7 separate regions of the Homo sapiens genome follow, and regions 2, 3, 4, 5, 6 and 7 are each linked to region 1. Evidence: promoter capture Hi-C in 16 types of primary human blood cells and fetal thymus (Javierre and others, 2016). All regions are on one chromosome and are shown on one strand. Each heading gives the region's core, a stretch centred on a gene start or on the middle of the fragment in contact. The rest is flanking DNA. Distances are from core to core; before and after follow the strand shown. Region 1 holds the start of AURKA (aurora kinase A). Region 2 holds the start of PRELID3B (PRELI domain containing 3B). Region 3 overlaps BCAS1 (brain enriched myelin associated protein 1). Region 4 overlaps BCAS1-AS1 (BCAS1 antisense RNA 1). Region 5 overlaps ZNF217 (zinc finger protein 217). Region 6 has its middle 67 kb from the start of ZNF217. Region 7 overlaps ZNF831 (zinc finger protein 831).

The links. The method cuts DNA at HindIII sites, captures the fragments that hold promoters and counts their contacts. A CHiCAGO score of 5 or more calls a contact.
Region 2: the fragment with the promoter of PRELID3B here is called in contact with the fragment with the promoter of AURKA in region 1 in 6 of 17 cell types (total CD8 T cells, naive CD4 T cells, total B cells and 3 more); the score reaches 10.0 in total CD8 T cells.
Region 3: a fragment that was not itself captured here is called in contact with the fragment with the promoter of AURKA in region 1 in 1 of 17 cell types (erythroblasts); the score reaches 6.1 in erythroblasts.
Region 4: a contact is called between a fragment that was not itself captured here and the fragment with the promoter of AURKA in region 1, in 3 of 17 cell types (erythroblasts, M0 macrophages and fetal thymus). The highest score is 10.6, in erythroblasts.
Region 5: a contact is called between a fragment that was not itself captured here and the fragment with the promoter of AURKA in region 1, in 1 of 17 cell types (M1 macrophages). The highest score is 5.2, in M1 macrophages.
Region 6: a fragment that was not itself captured here is called in contact with the fragment with the promoter of AURKA in region 1 in 1 of 17 cell types (erythroblasts); the score reaches 6.7 in erythroblasts.
Region 7: a contact is called between a fragment that was not itself captured here and the fragment with the promoter of AURKA in region 1, in 1 of 17 cell types (activated CD4 T cells). The highest score is 5.1, in activated CD4 T cells.

Annotation. Positions count from the first base shown.
Region 1 is chr20:56,390,699-56,393,464 of GRCh38, reverse strand. AURKA (aurora kinase A) reads left to right here and starts at 1,250. Exons shown (of 9, transcript NM_198437.3): 1 at 1,250-1,297. CSTF1 (cleavage stimulation factor subunit 1) reads right to left here and starts at 820. Exons shown (of 6, transcript NM_001324.3): 1 at 752-820. RefSeq lists an enhancer at 865-1,104. The HindIII fragment of the contact is 5,454 bases long and covers 983-2,766 here.
Region 2 is chr20:59,041,536-59,044,318 of GRCh38, reverse strand. It overlaps PRELID3B (PRELI domain containing 3B), which reads left to right and starts at 1,533. Exons shown (of 6, transcript NM_016045.3): 1 at 1,533-1,620. The coding sequence starts at 1,589. SLMO2-ATP5E (SLMO2-ATP5E readthrough) reads left to right here and starts at 1,473. Exons shown (of 6, transcript NR_037930.1): 1 at 1,473-1,620. RefSeq lists a silencer at 1,216-1,615. The HindIII fragment of the contact is 2,130 bases long and covers 865-2,783 here.
Region 3 is chr20:54,051,699-54,054,398 of GRCh38, reverse strand. The region is part of intron 3 of BCAS1 (brain enriched myelin associated protein 1); the gene reads left to right. Among named protein-coding and RNA genes, the nearest start is that of MIR4756, 15 kb to the left of the region's middle. The HindIII fragment of the contact is 1,494 bases long and covers 693-2,186 here.
Region 4 is chr20:53,935,632-53,938,331 of GRCh38, reverse strand. It overlaps BCAS1-AS1 (BCAS1 antisense RNA 1), which reads right to left. Exons shown (of 5, transcript NR_199019.1): 2 at 738-969. Among named protein-coding and RNA genes, the nearest start is that of BCAS1-AS1, 21 kb to the right of the region's middle. The HindIII fragment of the contact is 2,552 bases long and covers 1-2,532 here.
Region 5 is chr20:53,566,667-53,569,366 of GRCh38, reverse strand. ZNF217 (zinc finger protein 217) reads left to right here. Exons shown (of 6, transcript NM_006526.3): 6 at 103-2,296. All of the region lies in intron 3 of ZNF217-AS1 (ZNF217 antisense RNA 1), which reads right to left. Among named protein-coding and RNA genes, the nearest start is that of ZNF217-AS1, 15 kb to the right of the region's middle. The HindIII fragment of the contact is 4,272 bases long and covers 1-2,700 here.
Region 6 is chr20:53,659,515-53,662,214 of GRCh38, reverse strand. No RefSeq gene overlaps it. Among named protein-coding and RNA genes, the nearest start is that of ZNF217, 67 kb to the right of the region's middle. RefSeq lists enhancers at 894-953, 1,874-1,933, 1,944-2,003. The HindIII fragment of the contact is 418 bases long and covers 1,168-1,585 here.
Region 7 is chr20:59,165,794-59,168,493 of GRCh38, reverse strand. The region is part of intron 1 of ZNF831 (zinc finger protein 831); the gene reads right to left. Among named protein-coding and RNA genes, the nearest start is that of ZNF831, 3.3 kb to the right of the region's middle. The HindIII fragment of the contact is 667 bases long and covers 928-1,594 here.

The DNA of each region.
Region 1 (2,766 bases), core at 1-2,500:
AAATCACAAGTGGGTAGTCTGGCAAAGAAAAGTTGATGAGAGATTCTACTGTTAACGTTGGGTTAATATGACTCGAATAATTTCCGTATGCTAGCTCAATGCTTTACATGCACATCCTGTTTACCCTGCAGTAATCTGTTAATTCGTCTTATGTGAATTTAACTCTTAGTCCTAATAAGGTACCTGGAAGGATGGAGGGAAGCCATTTTTGGTTCCCCTACACCACTGTTCTATCCGGTCTCTTCACTTCTGCTGAGCACATCCCGGGTGTACATACACACACACACACACACATATGTGTGTGTATATATATGTATATGTGTGTGTGTGTGTATATATATATATATTTTAAGTGGCCCACCCCTAACTTCTCAACTCCCACAGAACGTTCACTCGCCAGGTAAACAGAAGCCTAATTATCCCCAATTTGCAGGTGAGCACACGAGGACAAGAACCCGATCCAGGACCGGATACATCGCAGTTGGAAAGGCTAGAACACAGATGCCCCCTCACTATATGCGCCGCGACCATCTGGATGCAGAGGCGAACTAAGGACTGGGTGGGAATGGAAGCGAGGCCCTTCGAGAAGAGGAAGGGGTGCAGGCCAAGCCGGGCAACTTAGGAAACGCAAAGTAGAGGCGCATGCCACCTTGCTAACTCTCGACTCTTCCAGTCTCGCCCCAGTCGTTTCTGTGGTTTTCTCTAAATGCCCCAGCCGACCGCACCAGCTACTCTCCCCGTGTCCCAGTACCAGCTGGTCCGGTTCTCTTGGTATCCCGCTCTCTCCTGGAAAAATGGAGGCGCGAATCCTGCCCAATCTACCGCTCCGAGCGCACGTTCACTGCGCACGCTGAAAGGGCGCCAAGCCGACCGCTGCGCTATCGATCGGTCCCACTCTCTCTTGCTTTTCTCGCCATCTTACTTACTGGCACGTTCAAAGGTTAGTTCACCTCCTTGGACTTTATCTCCAATGCGTCAAGCTTGACGTCAAGGGGCTGTTGCTTCACCGATAAATGGCCGACCGCGGAGAGCACCCTGGGGCTGGGACTGCCACAGGTCTGGCTGGCCGTTGGCTCCACCACTTCCGGGTTCTTAGGGAGCAAGTGCGCCTGCGCGCGGTGTGCGCCCTTAAACGCGACTCAAGGCGTCGGGTTTGTTGTCAACCAATCACAAGGCAGCCTCGCTCGAGCGCAGGCCAATCGGCTTTCTAGCTAGAGGGTTTAACTCCTATTTAAAAAGAAGAACCTTTGAATTCTAACGGCTGAGCTCTTGGAAGACTTGGGTCCTTGGGTCGCAGGTGGGAGCCGACGGGTGGGTAGACCGTGGGGGATATCTCAGTGGCGGACGAGGACGGCGGGGACAAGGGGCGGCTGGTCGGAGTGGCGGAGCGTCAAGTCCCCTGTCGGTTCCTCCGTCCCTGAGTGTCCTTGGCGCTGCCTTGTGCCCGCCCAGCGCCTTTGCATCCGCTCCTGGGCACCGAGGCGCCCTGTAGGATACTGCTTGTTACTTATTACAGCTAGAGGTACAAGGGGTTTGTTGAGTGGTGTTGACATGCGCGGGAGGGGTGGGTGGGCTTCAGATTGGATTTTGTCCTCCGAGATCACCTGGGTAAGAAAAGCACAGAAGGTCTCTGCTGTGTTGGAGTTCACGTTCTAGTGGGTGGGGAGACAGACGGTAAGCGTACGGAGAACTTGCAGCTGGGGTGGGTGTTACAGAGGAAAAGCAGGAGTGCGGTTTAACGGGGGCCGCTTTAGATAGAATAGCCTAAGAAGGCCCTTGTCCTGGCTGGATGAGTGGGTGAATTGATGAATGAGAACCTCCTTGCAGAGGCCTTCCCGGTCCGTACTTCTCAGACCGTAGACCTTGGAGCAGTTGTACCGGGATAACTTGCAGTGCTTGTTAAACATATAGCTCCACCGAGAGCCCGGTAAATCAGAATCTCTGAGGGGTAGGACCCAGGTGTCTAGTTATTAACAAACTCTCCAGATGATTCTTAGGTTTCATTGAGAACTAGGGATGCAGACCGGTGCATACAAATCGTCTGGGGACGTTAAAATGCAGAATCTGTTTTTTTAGACCTGGGGTTAGGCCTCAGAGTCTCCATTTCTAAGAACCATCCGGCTGAGGTAGACGTAGCCACTGTCCTTAACTCTCGTAATGTCTCTTCCTCTTCCGTAACCTTCCTTGTCCCTTGAATTAAACGTTTTTCAGCAACCTACTCAGTTCGTCCTTCCCTTCATCTCTGCAGACATGCACAGGTCTGAGGGAGGAAGGAATAAACCGTATAAACCTCCTGCGCTATTAGCCTAACAGCTTTTCTATTCAAAATAGTAGGACTTCTGGTTTGAACTGAATGGATCCTGTGAAAGTCATCTGGTTCTTCAATCTGGTTGCAGATTAGAGTCACCTGAAGGGCAGTCTCCTTGGCGTTGTCTCCAGAATTCTGGATTAGAATCTTATTCCATTCTGCTTGTTATTCAATTTCCCTAGAAAGAAAGGTAGAATAAATTGGAGCAAATGCCTGTAGCTTCTGTCAGAAGAATGTTGAATAAATGTTGTTAGGCCTATGTGATCTCATTAGACTGCTACTTAGAATTGTAAGGGAAGTAAAGCATTAGAGCATGTGTGAAATTAAATATTTGATTAACACAAGTGTGCATTTCCTTGTTGCTGTTTATCAACTTTTACTTACCCACTGTTTTTTTATAAGGGCTGCAGCCTGTAGTCTGGGCCTGGCTTCATCATGGAATTATTTGCTTAATTGTA
Region 2 (2,783 bases), core at 284-2,783, 2.7 Mb before region 1:
ACCACAAATTGCACTTAGCAACTACCCAACCATATTATTTCCTTCCTGTCTAATGTAATTTTTGTTTTCCTGTATAAAGGACTTATGTTATTTTGAAAAATTATCCTCCCTCCTAAATTAACCTGGCTTTTTGTCTTTAACAATCAAACAAGCTAAGAACAAGAATGAGGTGGTCCTTCTAACAAGCTTCTAAGTAACTAGATGTAAAGATTTTCCTCCATAACCTTCATTGAAAATGGCAAATTGTTCTGTTAGGAGGTAGACGGCTGTGGAGAGTGCAGGAGAGCAGGGTGGGAAGCCATATTCTGAAAGCTAAGCCAGGCAGTCTGTTCCCTGGACAAGGCTCATCTCTGAATGAAACCACATGCCACCTCCTCCTGCCCCAGCAATTCTTAGTCATTCTTTCATCCATTGATGCAACAAATAATTGTCATTTAGGAAGGGGGAAATCACTGAACAAGTCTGGCAAGAGCCTCGCCCTCAGGGGCTTACAGTCTAGCGGAAGTTACAACAAATAAACTAGATGACTCCATTAATTCATTCATCCCACAAATAGCTATTGATTTTTTTCATTTTTCAATAAGTAGTCATTGAGCCTTGACTATATGGGAGACACTGAGGATGATTTTTGAGCAAGACCGGCAAGATTCTTGCCTTCAAGAACTCAGTTCGATTGTGAATTTTCACAAATAAATTAACAAGATGATGTCAGAGGGGTAAGTGCTATAAAAAATGCAACAGGATATTGTGACGGAGCAGAGCAACAAGGTGAGAAACGGTGACGAGGGAAGTCTCTCTGGGAGAGACATCTCAGCTCAGATCCATCCTATGCACCTAGGGCAAGGTGTGCCCGGCCAGGAAGCTTTTCTACCCGACCCCTGGCACCGTGCTTCCGGACCGCATCCCTCGTAGGGGTATTATTCATGGGCAGGTCTGATGTTAGCTTCTCCGCGTCACGCCTTATTTATCCCCTCCGAGGGCTGCAAGCTCCTGGCGGGCAGGTGGGACTGGCCCAGCTGATCGGCTGGGTGGCTGGTGGATTTGGGAAAACAGCCCGGGCTGACCCAGGAGGTGGCTGGAACTCTCTATAGGGCACCAGGAAATTTTGCACAAGTGACCACCACAACGAACATCTATGTCAGCAGGCTGACCGCATGCGTCCACACGCCTCGAAATGCCAGGCGAGGATGTGCTGGGCCAGAAGGACAAGGAGGGCCAAGCGGGCGCGCAGGCACCTCCTGGACCTGACCCAACTCTGCCCAGAGGTCAAGGCTCGCTACAAGCCCGCCGCGCCTGCGCAGCACAGCGCCCGCGCCGGCCCCTCCAGCTGCCGTCGGCGGCACTGCGCCGGCGCGATGCGCCCGGCGCTAAGAGGCGGGGTTTCCTTGCGCCGCGCGCAAGGCTGGGGCAAAACCCGGGCCGGGATAGGGCGTGGGGCCGCGCGTCTGGACGTCCCTCGCGTCGGGCCCGACAGCGCCTGCGCACTGCGCCGCCGGCTGGGGTGCTGGGGGCGGGGCAGGGGCAGGTGTAGCCTCTGTGCCTCGTTGTCCCCTGGCGCTACCCGGACATCTCTCAGGGTGCCGGCACCATGAAGATCTGGACTTCGGAGCACGTCTTTGAGTAAGTTTGGGGCGCGGGTCGGCTCCGTGGAGGGCAGGCACGCCGGCCCTGGAGTAGAGGCGAGGCAGAGGCGGCCCGCAGGAGGCTTCTAGGCGTCGGGCCTAGCGAGGGGAGCGAACTCTGAAGCCTGCGGGCCCCGGCGACACGGAGGGCAGACCAAGGTCACGACCCCGAGGCGCCCTAGCCGAGGGGACGGCTCCGACCTCCAGACCCAGGCGGCCTTGCGACCGGCAGGGCTACGGGGTCACTTCCGGGCTGTCCCCCACCATGAGGTAGCCTCGGGCCGGCGGCCTCCTGAGGTCCTGGGGGCGTCGCGGAGCACGAAGCCCTTGACAGCACTCAGGGTTGCCCCATCCCGCCCTGTGAAACCACTTTGGGACGTGGACCCGAGGATCCCAAGAGGGAGGTGTTGGTTTTCTCCAGAGTGTACTTTCCCTGGCCGCCGTTTGGGTGGAGTTTCTACCTTCGAATGTGAATTTCGGGTGAACTCTGACCACCAGGATGTGAAGCCTTTTCACAACTCGTTCATCTACGCAGCAGAGCCTTGGATTTGGAATTCAAGGTCTAGCTCTGGCTGTAACAAGCGTGTGACCCTGGGTTACCCATTTTCATCTGAGAGATGGAAAAGGACGATCGTCAGGGCCTACCCGTGTTAGCTCTTTGAGGCCACGTTCAGGAACATCTTTTTGGATAATGTGAACTGTTTACTAACGAAACTAAGCCTTGAACCAGTTGGATGTGGAGAATTATATTCTCTTCTAGGTCCCTGATTCCATTTACAAAAGAGCCACAAATTTAAGCAGCGAAATCCTTTTTTTTCCCGAGTTACCTGCTCTGTTCCGCTGATCTTAATGTCGTTGCCACACTGTTTTAATTAGTATAGCCTTGTAAATAAATATGCTACAAAGCCATTTATGTTTTTAAAACTGTCTCTGAAGGCAAATTTTTTTTAAATTTCTTTTTTGAGGCAGAGTCTCGCTCTGTTGCCCAGGCTGGAGAGTAGTGGCGTGTTCTTGGCTCACTGCAACCTCCGTCTCCCGTGTTCAAACGATTCTCCTGCCTTGGCCTCCCAAGTAGCTGGGATTACAGGCGCCCACCACCGCGCCCGGCTAATTTTTGTATTTTTAGTAGAGACGGAGTTTCACCATGTTGGTCAGGTTGGT
Region 3 (2,700 bases), core at 190-2,689, 2.3 Mb after region 1:
TGGTGTATACATATATGTATAGAGGTATAGAAAAGTCATTGGAAAAATATGTAAATAGAAATCTAGTTGACTGTTTGGTTTCTTTTTATCTATACTTTTCCTACTTACAAAAATTACAATTAAAACAATTCATTGGTGATACGGTTTGGCTCTGTCCCCACCCAAATCTCATCTTGAACTGTAGCTCCCATAATCCCCACGTGTCATGGGAGGGACCCAGTAGGAGGTAATTGAATCATAGGGGCATGTTTTTCCCATGCTGTTCTCATGATAGTGAATAAGTCTCACGAGATTTGATGGTTTTATAAAAGGGAGTTCCACTGCATATGCTCTCTTGCCTGCTGCCATGTAAGACATCCCTTTGCTCTTCCTTCGTCATCTGCCATGATTGTGAGGTCTCCCCAGCCATGTGGAGCTGTAAGTCCATTAAACCTCTTTCCTTTATAAATTACCCAGTCTCAGGTATGTCTTTATTAGTAGCCTGAGAACAGACTAATACCATTGGCATCCAATAATATTTCCTATGAAGGCTTATTTAGAAGCAGCAATGGTACCATGGCTAAGCAAACAGCCAAAGAGGCTGGAATGCTACATTGAATCATGGCTCCAATATGTGAGCTTGGGCAGGTTTCTGAGCTTCTTTGTTCTGTCATCTGTAAAATGGGAATTATAATAATGATAGGACCAAAGCTTCTAAGTTATTGTACGGTTTAAATAAGTTGATACTCCTAAAACTCTCAGAACAGTGTCTGGCATGTGGTAAACACATAAGGAAAGTTATTCTGTCTTGGATTTAATGTCAATTGACATAAAGACTGCCATTGCTATTTGAAGTTAACTGTATTATTTCTGCCTAACATATCTTTTGGAACTTTAAGATCAAAAGTTAAAACTAGTCTTTCCTACATCCCTTATGCCTTGTAAGTCTTTTATTTGTCTTTCGATACAATGTGAGAGATATCAATCAGGGAAAATACCTCTTTTAAACTAAAACATGAAATTACATTCTGTATCCTCCTAGAAAGAAATGTATCGTGTAGAGTGCTTTTTCTTAGTAAGAGCAAACCACCATGGGAATTTGATATCAAACAAACATTAAGTAATACAATCCATGTGGATTGGAGATCTTTCTCAAAAGTTTGGTATTATTATTCATCTTAAGTAACAATATATTAAAAAATCAAAATGTCTCAGTTTTTGCTTATGTTATATTTCTAGCTTAACTCACCAATTTTAGATGTTATTTGAGTGTCCCGTTTTGGAGTAGGTTGCTAATGATGTTAAAACAACATACCATGTGATTTACCTGCAATGCCACTAAGACAAACACATTTGCTTGCAAACTTTGGGTGAGAGGCTTATGTGCTTGTTCTGCCAAAATGCAATTGTTTAAATTAGTATCCTCAATTTGTCTCCATCCTTTTCAAATAGTTGTTTTATTTGAACCCAAAAATATCTTGAGAATTATTAGAGCAAAATATCTATCATTAGAAGAACGGATAATCCAATTAGGGTATATCCGTACAATGGTCTCGTAATCTGTTTGTACTGCTATAACAAAATGCCATAGATCTGGTAATTTATAAAAAGTAGAAATTTTTTTCTCTTAGTTCTAGAGGCTGGGAAGTCCAGGATCAAAGCACCAGCAGGTTCAGTGTCTGGTGAGGGCCCTGTTCTCTACTTCCAAGATGGCGCCTTGCTGTGCCCACCAGAGGGGAGGAATGCTGTGTCCTCAGATGGCAGACACGACAGAAGGGCAGGAAAGGGACTAACTAGTTCCCTCAAGTCCGTTTATAAAGTCTATAATTCCATTTATGTGGTCTTTGCCCTCTAAACTCAATCACCTCCTTAAGGCCTCACCTCTTAATATGATCACATGGTAACTAAGTTTCAACATATGAATTTTGGGGGACACATTCAGGCTATAGCAGATGGTATACTCCTTAGCAATAAATAAGAAGGAACTACTGATCAATGCAACAGCATGGATGAATCTCAACATTATTATACTACGAAAAAGAAGCCAGACACAAAAGGCAACATACTACATGATTCCACTTATATAAAATTCTAGAAAGGGCACAAATGTAGTGACAGAAAGTAGATCAGTGGTTGCTAGGGGCTGGGGCTGGTTGAGACACTCACTGCAGAGGGGCATCGAGAAACTTTGCAATGATGGAGAAGCTTTATACCTTCATCATGGTGGAGGCTACATGACTGCATATTTTGTCAAAATGCACTGAATTGTGCTATTAAAGTTGGTGGATTTTATTGTATGTGAATTATACTTCAATCAGATAAATCTGATTTTTGTAAATGCTGTTAAGGTACAATGAAGTTTTTTAAAAATCAGCATAGTTGGCTGGGTGCAGTGGCTCACGCGTGTAATCCCAGCACTTTTGGAGGCCGAGACAGGTGGATCACCTGAGGTTGGGAGTTTGAGACCAGCCTGGCCAACGTGGTGAAACCCCGTCTCTACTAAAAATACAAAAATTAGCTGGGCGTGGTGACACACGTCTGTAATCCCAGCTACTCTGGAGGTTGAGGAAGGAGAATCTCTTGAACCCAGGGAGGCAGAGGTTGCAGTGAGCCAAGATCGTGCCACGGCACTCCAGCCTAGGAGACAGACAGAGACCTCATCTCAACAACAACAACAACAACAACAACAACAAACAAAAAAAAAACCAGCATAGTCAAAAG
Region 4 (2,700 bases), core at 7-2,506, 2.5 Mb after region 1:
AGACAGGCAGGCAAAAAGATAATAATAATACAATGTAAGAGAAGCAAATGCAGGGTGTCATGGGACTCAGGGGAAGGCACTGGCGCAAGACCACAGTGGGTGGAGGTTGGCCACTTTGGGGAGGTGACAGTTGAGTTAACTCACACAGAATGAATAAGCGTTGGACAAAAGGGCTCCCAGAAGAACAGCAAGTGCAAGAGCCCAGGGTCCACAGAGAGAATGGCAGGTAGCTTAGCATGGCTGAAGTGAGACTGTGAGGAGAACGGATAAGAGGATGGAAGCTGGGGAGGTGGCACAGATGGATCTCAAGGACTTGGAGTAAAAAGTCCATAGTAACGAGTTTAAATTGTCTCTTGACGGCAATGGGGAGCCATGGAAGATATTTGAGCTGGAGGGTAACATAGATTTATATTTTGGCTGCAGGTAGGATCTAATACAAAAGCAATTCAACTAATATTCACTAAGTGACCTGAGTTATCTGTGAGATATTTATTATAAGGTGTTAAACTTCTTTGAAGATTGTAAGAAAGAGATAAAACCTCTAAATGGTTTTGACCCTTCAAAGGACATTTAAATGGTTATTTCTAAGTGTCATAAACATGGACTTGGGATTTGGCCTCATCATTCACCCAGATGATTCATACCCATGATCCCAGGCTGTGAGGTCTTGAGCAAATTACTTCTTCTCAGAGCCTTAGTTTGTTCCTCTGTGGAATGGGAATGCTAACAGCACTTACCTCGGAAAGTTGCTGAGAATAAACGAGACCGTGCATTTAGAGCATGTAGGCACCGTGTCTGGCAGGTAATGAGTGCTCAGTCAGCTTATTGATGAGGATGCAGATGACCTCAGCCTGAGATAGAACAGATGTGTTCTCTTTCATGGACTGAAGGCCACCCAGACTTTGCGACATCCTTAAACTTTGCCCCAGTTTCTCCTTATCCTCATAAGCAGTTGGCTGGCTGGCTTATCTAGAAAAAAGAAAGGAGGGAGGAGAAAAAGCAAAGAAAAATGTTCATTTTCCCTGCTGTTCACCCCATTCTAAAGTAAGGCAGAATTTCTGGAGAGGGGGCTCAGGTCCACCCTTGGCTATCCTTGGTTGTACAGTTGCATCTACTTATAACGGTGGCCAAGTCGCCATGGCAGTAGGTGCTGTGGCTGCCCTGCCCCATCGTCTTCAGACTACCCGAGTTTACCTGCAGCACTGACAGCTTCCCACCCCAAAACTCCTCGTTCTTTGCTTTTCCTCTCGGTGGCTTTCTCCAGGGGCTGTAGGAGCTTGTTTAGCCCACCTGCATGGCATTTTGAAAATACCTGAAATTTTATGCCCCGAAGGACAATTCTCAATCAGTGAAAGATGGGAGAGGAAAGGTAAACACCTCAGCTGCCCCATCTCTCAGTGGGACAATGTTGAGGGGTCGTCTTTGTGTTCTCTCAAGGGTCCTCAGCAAGACCGAGCCACCCGTCACCCACAGCAGTAACATACTCATGAGCACGCCCCCCCACCCCACCTTTTGTGCTTCCTGGGATCACTTCCCAAATAAACTACTTGCACCTAAGTTTTTGTCTCAGGGTCTGTGTCTTAGGTTAAAAACCTCTGTGTCGGCCAGGCGCGGTGGCTCACGCCTGTAATCCCAGCACTTTGGGAGGCCAAGACGGGTGGATCACCTGAGGTCAGGAGTTCTAGACCAGCCTGGCCAACATGGTAAAACCCCATCTCTACTAAAAATACAAAAATTAGCCGGGTGTGGTGGCAGACGCCTGTAATCCCAGCTACTCGGGGGGCTGAGGAAGGAGAATCCCATCTCTACTAAAAATACAAAAATTAGCCGGGTGTGGTGGCAGACGCCTGTAATCCCAGCTACTCGGGGGGCTGAGGCAGGAGAATCCCTTGAACCCGGGAGGCAGAGGTTGCCATGAACCGAGATCACACCATCGCACTCCAGCCTGGGGGACAAGAGCGAGACTTTGTTCCAAAAAAAAAAAAGAAAAATCTGTGATCTGTGTCTTAGGGTTTTCTCGGGAACCTCTATCCCATGACAAGGAGCTGAATAGAAGGACATTAATATGGGTGCTAGTTTTAAAGGTACTGGAAGAGTTGAAAAGACAACCATGGGGCCGTGAGGCCCACCCGGAGATTAGAAATAGAACATGGCACATGTATACCTATGTAACTAACCTGCACATTGTGCACATGTACCCTAAAACTTAAAGTATAATTTAAAAAAAAAAAGAAAGAAAGAAATAGAAATAGGCTACAAAAAGAACCACCACTAGAGACACACAGCCAAAGGGAAGAGGTGATGCTTCTGGAGCTAGGGAACCCGGCACCCTGTGGGAAATAGAACCCCATGTGGATGGGGGTGAGGCTGCTTGAGGGTAGCTGGAACCCAATGGAGGCTTCTGCAAGCAGTACCTTTTTGTTGACTGGAGGGAGGAGGCAGGAAAAATACGTGTCAGTGCCGCCCACTGGCTGAACTTAACCAGAAGCCAGTTGGTAATGGAACCTGGGAAATGCAGTTTGAAGAGAAGCTTGGAAAAATGATCTGAGAGTAAACATACAAATACCTAGCACAGTTGGTGGCTTTAAGAGGAGAAAAAAGGGAAGGGAAGGGGAGGGGAGGGGAGGAGAAGGGAGGGGAGGGAAGGGAAGGGAAGGGAAGGGAAGGGAAGTGAAGGGAAGGGGCAACCTTGATTAGTGT
Region 5 (2,700 bases), core at 23-2,522, 2.8 Mb after region 1:
TAGGTCAGTTTGGTTCTATGTATTACGCTTTTTTAAAGAAAGAATTTTCTAAACTGTATTCAGTTTTGATCTTAATCATTTAAAAAATGTTGTTTTCCTTAGGTCTTGGTGGATGTCAGTGCTTACTCCCCATGAAATTAAATTTTACTTCATCCTTTGAGAAGCGAATGGTGAAAGCTACTGAAATAAGCTGTGATTGTACTGTACATAAAACATATGAGGAATCTGCAAGGAACACTACAGTTGTGTAAAGTTGTTCTGTTAACTTTTGTACCAAATAGCAATACAAACTAGTTGGAACAGTTGGAACTTACATACATGGGGACTGGAAATCTCTATTTTGTCCCTGAATAATATTTTTCTTAGAATTGACCAAATAAGAAGTGGAATTTTTGCATACTTGAGCGCTGCTGAAAAGAAATCATTTGGGTTGGGTGGGGCGGGATGGGGGAAAAGTATATAATGCTTGCACCTCAGGTAAAAATCTGTAAATATCTAAGTTGTAAACCTGCTTGTTCAAATACTGTGTGTATTCCTTTTCTCTAATGCAGCTCATCACTTGGAGCAGTTTCTGCTATTGTGCTCTTTCATTTAAAATGTATGTTTTTTTTTTTTTAAACTGTCAATGATTTTGTATTATGTTGAATCCACCCAAATCTATTGTTGTCTTAAAATTGTTAATGGAAGTATTGACCCTCTATGATATGTGCTGCAGATATCGAGGTCAGCCATTCGGAAGCTGGCAGCATTTTATCGCAACTTTGAGCATCTCAGATGGGGAAGGCACCTTCTTCCTCGCCTCTCCAGATTGTCCTGGAACCTCCAGGATCCTTGACTGAGGGCGTTGGGATGGCTTGTAGGATTTTTAAGAGAGTGTGTCTACAGACAAGCATTTTCTCTGTAGAGCAGCCACACGTTGTATAAACATAAACTGTATGTGCAGTTATTTAAATTTGTTTCTGTCAAATTAATCATTTTTGTTGGACGATTCAGTGGCGGGGGGGTTTTGCCTAAATTAGTATATAAAAACAAAAATGCTAAATTATATCTGTGAATTGCAGGTATTGGGGAACAGTTTTAAGGGAAATTTTGGGGGGAACATTTTAGGTTTGTATTTGGTAGTCTTAATGTATCTGGCATTTGGGTGAACTGTGGACATACTAGAGTTGATTATAGACACATTGATTTTGAATAAGGAACTGCTGGCCGAGCCCGCTGGGAGTCTAGAAAGAGAAAATCTGTTTCTAGACCTCAGTTATTTTCCCATTTTTGGTTGTTTTGAAGCAGTAACATTTTTCTCAGTGCACATGCAATTTGGGTTTTAGAGAAGATGGCCACCAGCTGGCTTCCTAGATATTTTAAACTTTTGTTCTTTAATATGCTGTCCATGGCTGAGTTTATTAGTACATGGGCTTAGTGACCACAAAATATTTTATTAAGAAACTGTTTCAAAAATAAATTTGCACTGTTCATTTTTCTGGCCTCGCTGTTCTCCATAGAGCAAGGGTAATCCTAGAAAAAATTTTTTTTTTTTAAATTATGCAACGTAAGATGTCCTCCTTGATAGAAGTCTTAGCTCCTGTGTTACAAGGGAGAACTCATTTGAGATCAGTCTGTTGGCATTGCAATGAAGTGCTTTGTATCAGGAAAGTGTACACTATTGACCTTTTTTCCTGTTCACAAGCTGAGCCATATGTACATAATCTAGATTTTGTTTTCATAGTTTTGCACTTTTATAGCCTATTTTTGAAGATTAACACATTTGCAAGATGATTGACTCAATCTTTGCCTAATCCAATGAGTGTTACAGAGAGCTTGCTGTGACTAGAACCATAAATCTTAAAGGGGGTATGTGATAATAGAGGGCTGGAATTTAAACCTGTATTTAAAAAAAAGAATCACCAAATCTATTTGAAAACAAGTCGATTTGTATTATGCTGGAATTTTTTGGGCTTTCAGATTTCTCTTTTTAACCACATTTCTGAATGTATAAAAATACCAATTATTTTCCTACAGCCCTTTGTACTTCAAAATATGTTTTTGTGTCCATCAGTATTAACTATTGGTATACTACTGGTTTTATATTTTTTTTTCTTTGAGACAACAGTACATATAATAGAGGTACAATTCGTTGGATTTTTGTTTATGTATTTATTTCATTCCAGTTTGATTTATTTTAATTGTTGATACTTAAGTTGTCGAACAGTAGACATTACTTGTTTTATTTATGATATATTTCAGCTTAAAGTTATGTTATTATATGTGGAAGTGTAAATATAGATTTGGTGTTTTGCAATCTTGAGTTTTAGTGTTTATTGTGTTTCTGGTTTCTGATTTTGTTTTATTTAACTTTTTAGTTTTCTTTCTTTTTTTTTTTTTTGAGATGTGCTCCTGCTCTGTCACTCAGGCTGGAGTGCAGTGGTGCAATCACAGCTCACTGCAGCCTTGAACCCCTGGGCTCAACTGATCCTCCAGCTCTCGGCCTCCCGAGTATCGAGCCATCATGCCTGGCTTATAAACACAATTTTAAGGCCAGCACGTGGCTCACGCCTGTAATCCCAGCCCTTTGGAAGGCCAAGGCGGGTGGATCACTTGAAACCAAGAGTTTGAGACCAGCCTGGCCAACATGGCGAAACCCCGTCTTTACTAAAAATACAAAAATTAGCTGAGTGTGGTGGTGCACACCTGTGGCCCCAGCTA
Region 6 (2,700 bases), core at 127-2,626, 2.7 Mb after region 1:
GGGAGGCTGAGGCAGGAGAATTGCTTGAACCCAGGAGGTGGAGGTTGCGGTGAGCAGAGATCGTGCCATTGCACTCCAGCCTGGGCAACAAGAGCGAAACTCCATCCCAAAAAAAAAAAAAAAAGAAAAAGAAAAGAAAAAAAAGAAATAGCACAGGGAATACTGACCACATTTCTGCCTTTGTTCAGTTCAGATTGACAAATATTTGTTGAGCTCCGACAAGCAGGGAGAGGGACAAGGTGAACCAGCCCTTTCCTGCCCCTAAAGAGCAGCATAGCCACCAAGTAAACACATCATTTCAATATACTGTGGTAGCCCCTGGATAGAGGGAACTAAAAGTTGCTACAAAAACATGAATGCTATCTAGAAACTCCTGCATTTTCTCTTGAAGCATGTGAAGGAGTTCATCTGAAAAAGATGCCAAAAAGCCAAGAATCCAGCATCTACATCATCTTAGGAGGGAGCAGGGATAGGTAGGGAGGAGCCACCAGCTCTCGGATATTCCCAGATGCTAAAAGGTAAAGTGAATTCTTCTATAAGGATGTGTCTATCTAGCTGAGTCTGCAAAGCCTCCCCACAGTAAATCTGAAGTTGAGAATGCCAAAGTATTTGCTTTCATCTAACTCTTTGACAGACAAATAGAATACAAAAATAAAAACATCTCTCTTCTACCCTCATTGTAATCTTTTTCCTCTTTTCAAAATCTTTTAAACAAAATGCCTCTTTACTGTGAAATCTGTTCTATTGATTTGTTTTCATAAAAGATCTCTCTCCTAAAGAAAGGAAAAGCCATCTTTGATCTGACTTGACAAAAAGATCTAATCAAACAATAAAATCTATGAAGGAAAAAAAAGAAAAAGAAGCAAGCTTCTTTGAGCCACATCAAATATATGAAAGAGAAAATACTTCATTTAAATGCTAAAAACTAACACAAAACAGCTTGAAATGTAATAACCTCTCCTGAATAAGTGAAACCACATGTTGATCTGACATGAGTTTCTAAGACACAATTAAAGGTCACTTCGTGTACAAACATCTCATTCGGAAGTGAGAAGCTTGAATTGCTGTCAGTATTTTTGGCCACCACGGGGCAGGTGCTCCCACCTGGCACAAACCATATAGACGCCCCCAGAGGGAATGAAGGTGATACTCCACATACTGGAAGCTTCAAATCTAGCCGCGCCAGGAAATGTTCAGCCCTGGATTTCAGCTGTTTCTCCCTTGATGTCCTAACAGAGAGGACTAACTAAATGTGAGAATCCTTGTTGTTTTAGGAAGCCCATGGAAGTGGCTTTACTTAAAAAACTAAAGGCTTCCTTTCTGCTCTGTCTGTCTTTATGACCCACCAGGGTCCTAGGAGAGAAGACATTAGGGTGTTGCAGCCACAGAGTCACATTTGGAAACGTCTTCCAGCAGCTGGGATGTTTCAATTCAAGACTCTTTAAGGGAACACAGGGTATTTGGAAAGTGACTTTAAAATGCCCTGGCCTCCAGGCCTATCTCCTCTTACCAAATCCCTTTAAGAAAGGATGTGCTGGGGAAAGACTTCAAAGTGTTTCAAAAGGGAAATCACATCTTGAAAGCTTTTCTCAGAATGAGAAAGAAACACATTATTTGATTTGAAAGAGAAGTAAATCTTAAGCAGCAATGAAGGAGGATCAAAGAATAGGTTCATGTGAACTTAAGAAGTGATCCTTTCCAGCGGAACGTGACTTTACTCTTTCCGATGCCCTCAACGCATTTTGGGGATTGTAAGTTTACTCGAGAATCAAAATAAAGAGGCGAGCCAGCGTTCCAGAAAATCACGTGGTCTCCCCCGCCCCCCAATCTATTTTACAGCCCTCTCCAGCTTCGAACTCGCGCCAGGCTGTGCGCACCGACTTTGCGCTGGCGGCGTGGACGCTGCGGCCACTCGCGGGCGGCGTGGACGCTGCGGCCACTCGCGCGGCTGTTGTTGTTGCTGCTGCGTGGAGGCACGCCGCTCCTTGCACACGCGGGGCAATTCTCCGGTTGGGGAAGGAGGAAAATGGCTGAGAAAAGGACCTAAGAAAGCCTTCAGGGTGGGCCCCCATTTCTTCCTGCCCCGCCCACACCCTGCCACACTCTCCCGCCGTCCCCTCCCCACCCCCCCTTGTTCTTTGGACCTGACCGATGAAAAATTCAACTAATACCTAAATAGATTCTTCTTGCAAAAAAGTAAAATCTCAAAGCAAAACAAAACAAAACAAAAATTTGTTAGGGGAGAAATCATCTGTGAGGTGCCCTTTCCATTCTAGCTCCCTCTCCCCTCTCCGTTTCCCTAAATGTTATTCTCTATCGATAGACATAGAGATGTGGATATTACCTGTAGATAGATATTTTAAAATTGTATTTATTTCTTAAAGACACTTCCATAATCTAATATACAAAGGAATTCATAAACTTAAGAGCGGAAGTTGTCACATAAATAAAAAACAACCAATACTTTTTGATCAGTAAAATCACTGATTCGGCTGGGCGCGGTGGCTCACGCCTGTAATCCCAGCACTTTGGGAGGCCAAGGCGGGCCGATTATGAGGTCAGGAGATGGAGACCATCCTGGCTAACAGGGTGAAACAAACCCCGTCTAAACTAAAAATACAAAAAATTAGCCGGGCGGGGCGCCTGTAGTCCCAGCTACTCGGCAAGCTGAGGCAGGAGAATGGCGTGAACCCGGGAGGC
Region 7 (2,700 bases), core at 12-2,511, 2.8 Mb before region 1:
AAATTCTCAAAGAATCTACAAAAAAAAAAAAAAAAAAACCTCCTCGCACTAATAAGTGAGTGCAGCAAGGACACAGGATACAAGATCAACACACAAAAGTCAATTACATTTCTATATACTAGCTATGAATGGTTGAAAACCAAAATTAAATGAAAAACGAAATATGTAGTTGTAAATCTAATAAAACATGTACAAGACTTACGCACTGAAAACTACAAAACACTGATGAACTAACTCAAATAAAGTCTAAATAATAAAGAGGCATATTGTGTTCATGCATTGGAAGATTCAACATAGTAAAAATGTCAATTCTCCCTAAATTGATATACAGGTTTAATGCAATTCCTATCAAAACCCTAGTAAGATATTTTTGTGGGCATAGACAAGATTATTCTAAAATTTATATAGAAAGGCAAAAGAACTGGAATAACTCAAACAAGTTTGAAGAAAGATAATAAAGTGTAAAGAATCAGTCTACCTAACTTGATAACTTATTATATAGCCAAAGTAATCAAGACTGTATTGTCAGAATAGACACAGACATGAGTAGAACAAAATAATTAAAAAAAAAAACATAAATCAATCTGCACAAATATACCCAACTGATTTTTTTTTCTTTTGAGATGGAGTCTTGCTCTGTCACCCAGGCTGGAGTGCAGTGGCACGATCTCAGCTCAGTGCAACCTCTGCCTCCTGGGTTCAAGCAATTCTCCTGCCTCAGCCAACTGATTTTTTGACAAAGGTTGAAAGCAGTTCTGTAGAGAGAGTGTAGATGTTTCAACAAATGATGCTGAAACAATTGACTTCCGCAGGCAAAAGAAAAAAGAAAAAAAAAACCTTGACCTAAACCTCACATCTTACTTATATAGAAATTAACTCAAAATATTTAAAACAGTCTTAAATGTGAAATATAAAACTGTAAAAGCTTAGGGGAAAAAAAGCACAGGAGAAAATCTTTAGGACTTCTAAAGTGGGAAAGAGTTCCTAGACTTGAAACAAAAAGTATGAGCCATAAAAGGAAAATATAATAAAATGGACCTCATCGAAGTTAATTTTTTTTTTTTTGCTCTGTGCAAACCCCTGCTTATAATAAGAGAATAAAAAACTAGCTACAGATCTGGAGAAAGTATTCACAAACAACATATCTGACAAGGGACTTATATTTAAAATCTATACAGAACTATGAAAATTTAACAGTTAAAAAAAAACCAACAACAATCCAATTAGAAAGTGTGCAAACACATGAAGCAAGTTATCACCAAAAACGGTATACAGCCAGCAGATAAGCACACGAAAAGGTGTTCAACATCTTTAGCCACCTGGGAAATATAAATTAAAGCCACAATAAAATATCACTTCACACCTGTCAGAATGGCTAGAATAAAAAATAGTGAAACAGCAAATGCTGGCGAGGATCTGGAAACACTGCCCACGTTGCCAGGATCCATTTCGGTGTGGATGTGAAGTGGCACAGCCATTCTGGAAAAAAGGGTGGCCATTTCTTAACAAATCAAACATGGGACTATTATTCAACCCAGCAACTGCACTCCTGGGCATTTATTTCACAATGAAAACTTACGTTCACACAAAAGCTTGTACATGAATGTTTCTAAAGCTTTATTTGTAATAGTCAAAAATTGGCATCAGCCCAGATGCCCTTCAACAATGAATATTTAAACCAACTGTGGTACATCCATATCACAGAACACTACTGAGCAATAAAAAGAAGCATACCGTTGACACATGAAACATTTGGATGAATCTCTAGAGAATTATGCTGAATGAAAAAAGTCAGTCCCCAAAGGCTACACACCACACTGAATGATTCCATTCATATAACATTCTTGAAATGACAAATTATAAAACTGGAGGACAGACTAGTGATTGCTTGGGGTTAAGGGGTTGGGGGGGAGAGAGAGAGGAGGAGAGCAGGAGGGATTTGGGGTGTCCACGACGCATCCTTGCGGTGACAGAAATGTTCTGTATCTTGACTATATCACTGTCAATATTTTGATTGTGATTTGCAAGATGTTGCTATTGGAGGAAACTGGGTAAAAAACACATGGGATCTCTCTGTATTTTTTTCTTACAACTGCAGGTGAATCTGCAATGTTCTCAAAACAAAGAGGCTAATTTATGAAAGTAATAAATACGTAAATAGAATCAAAACAGGAACAACCTTCCCAGTGTGTGAGTCAATGTTATTTACTGCAGCATCCATAGTGTATCTAGAACCGACCCTAGCCACGAGTACCACAGCCTACCCTTGGAGAAACACCGACTCTGCACAGACCATTTTCCTTTCATTTTCTTTATATCAACTCACTTTTTCTTATGTACCCTTATATATTCAAAGGAAAATTGACATCACTACCATTTACCATATCTGGAAAAGCTCCAACATTGCTATGAATACAAAGTGATCATAAAGAAACTACAAGGGGCTGGGTGTGGTAGCTCACGCCTGTAATCTCAGCACTTTGGGAGGCCGAGGCAGATAGATCACCTGAGGTCAAGCGTTAGAGACCAGCCTAGCCAAAATGGCGAAACCCCTTCTCTACTAAAAATACAAAAAAATTAGCCAGTTGTGGTGGTGAGCACCTATAATCCCAGCTACTCAGGAGGCTGAGGCAGAAGAATCGCTTTAACCCAGAAGGTAGAGGTTGTAGTGAGCTGATCATGCCACTGCACTCCAACCTG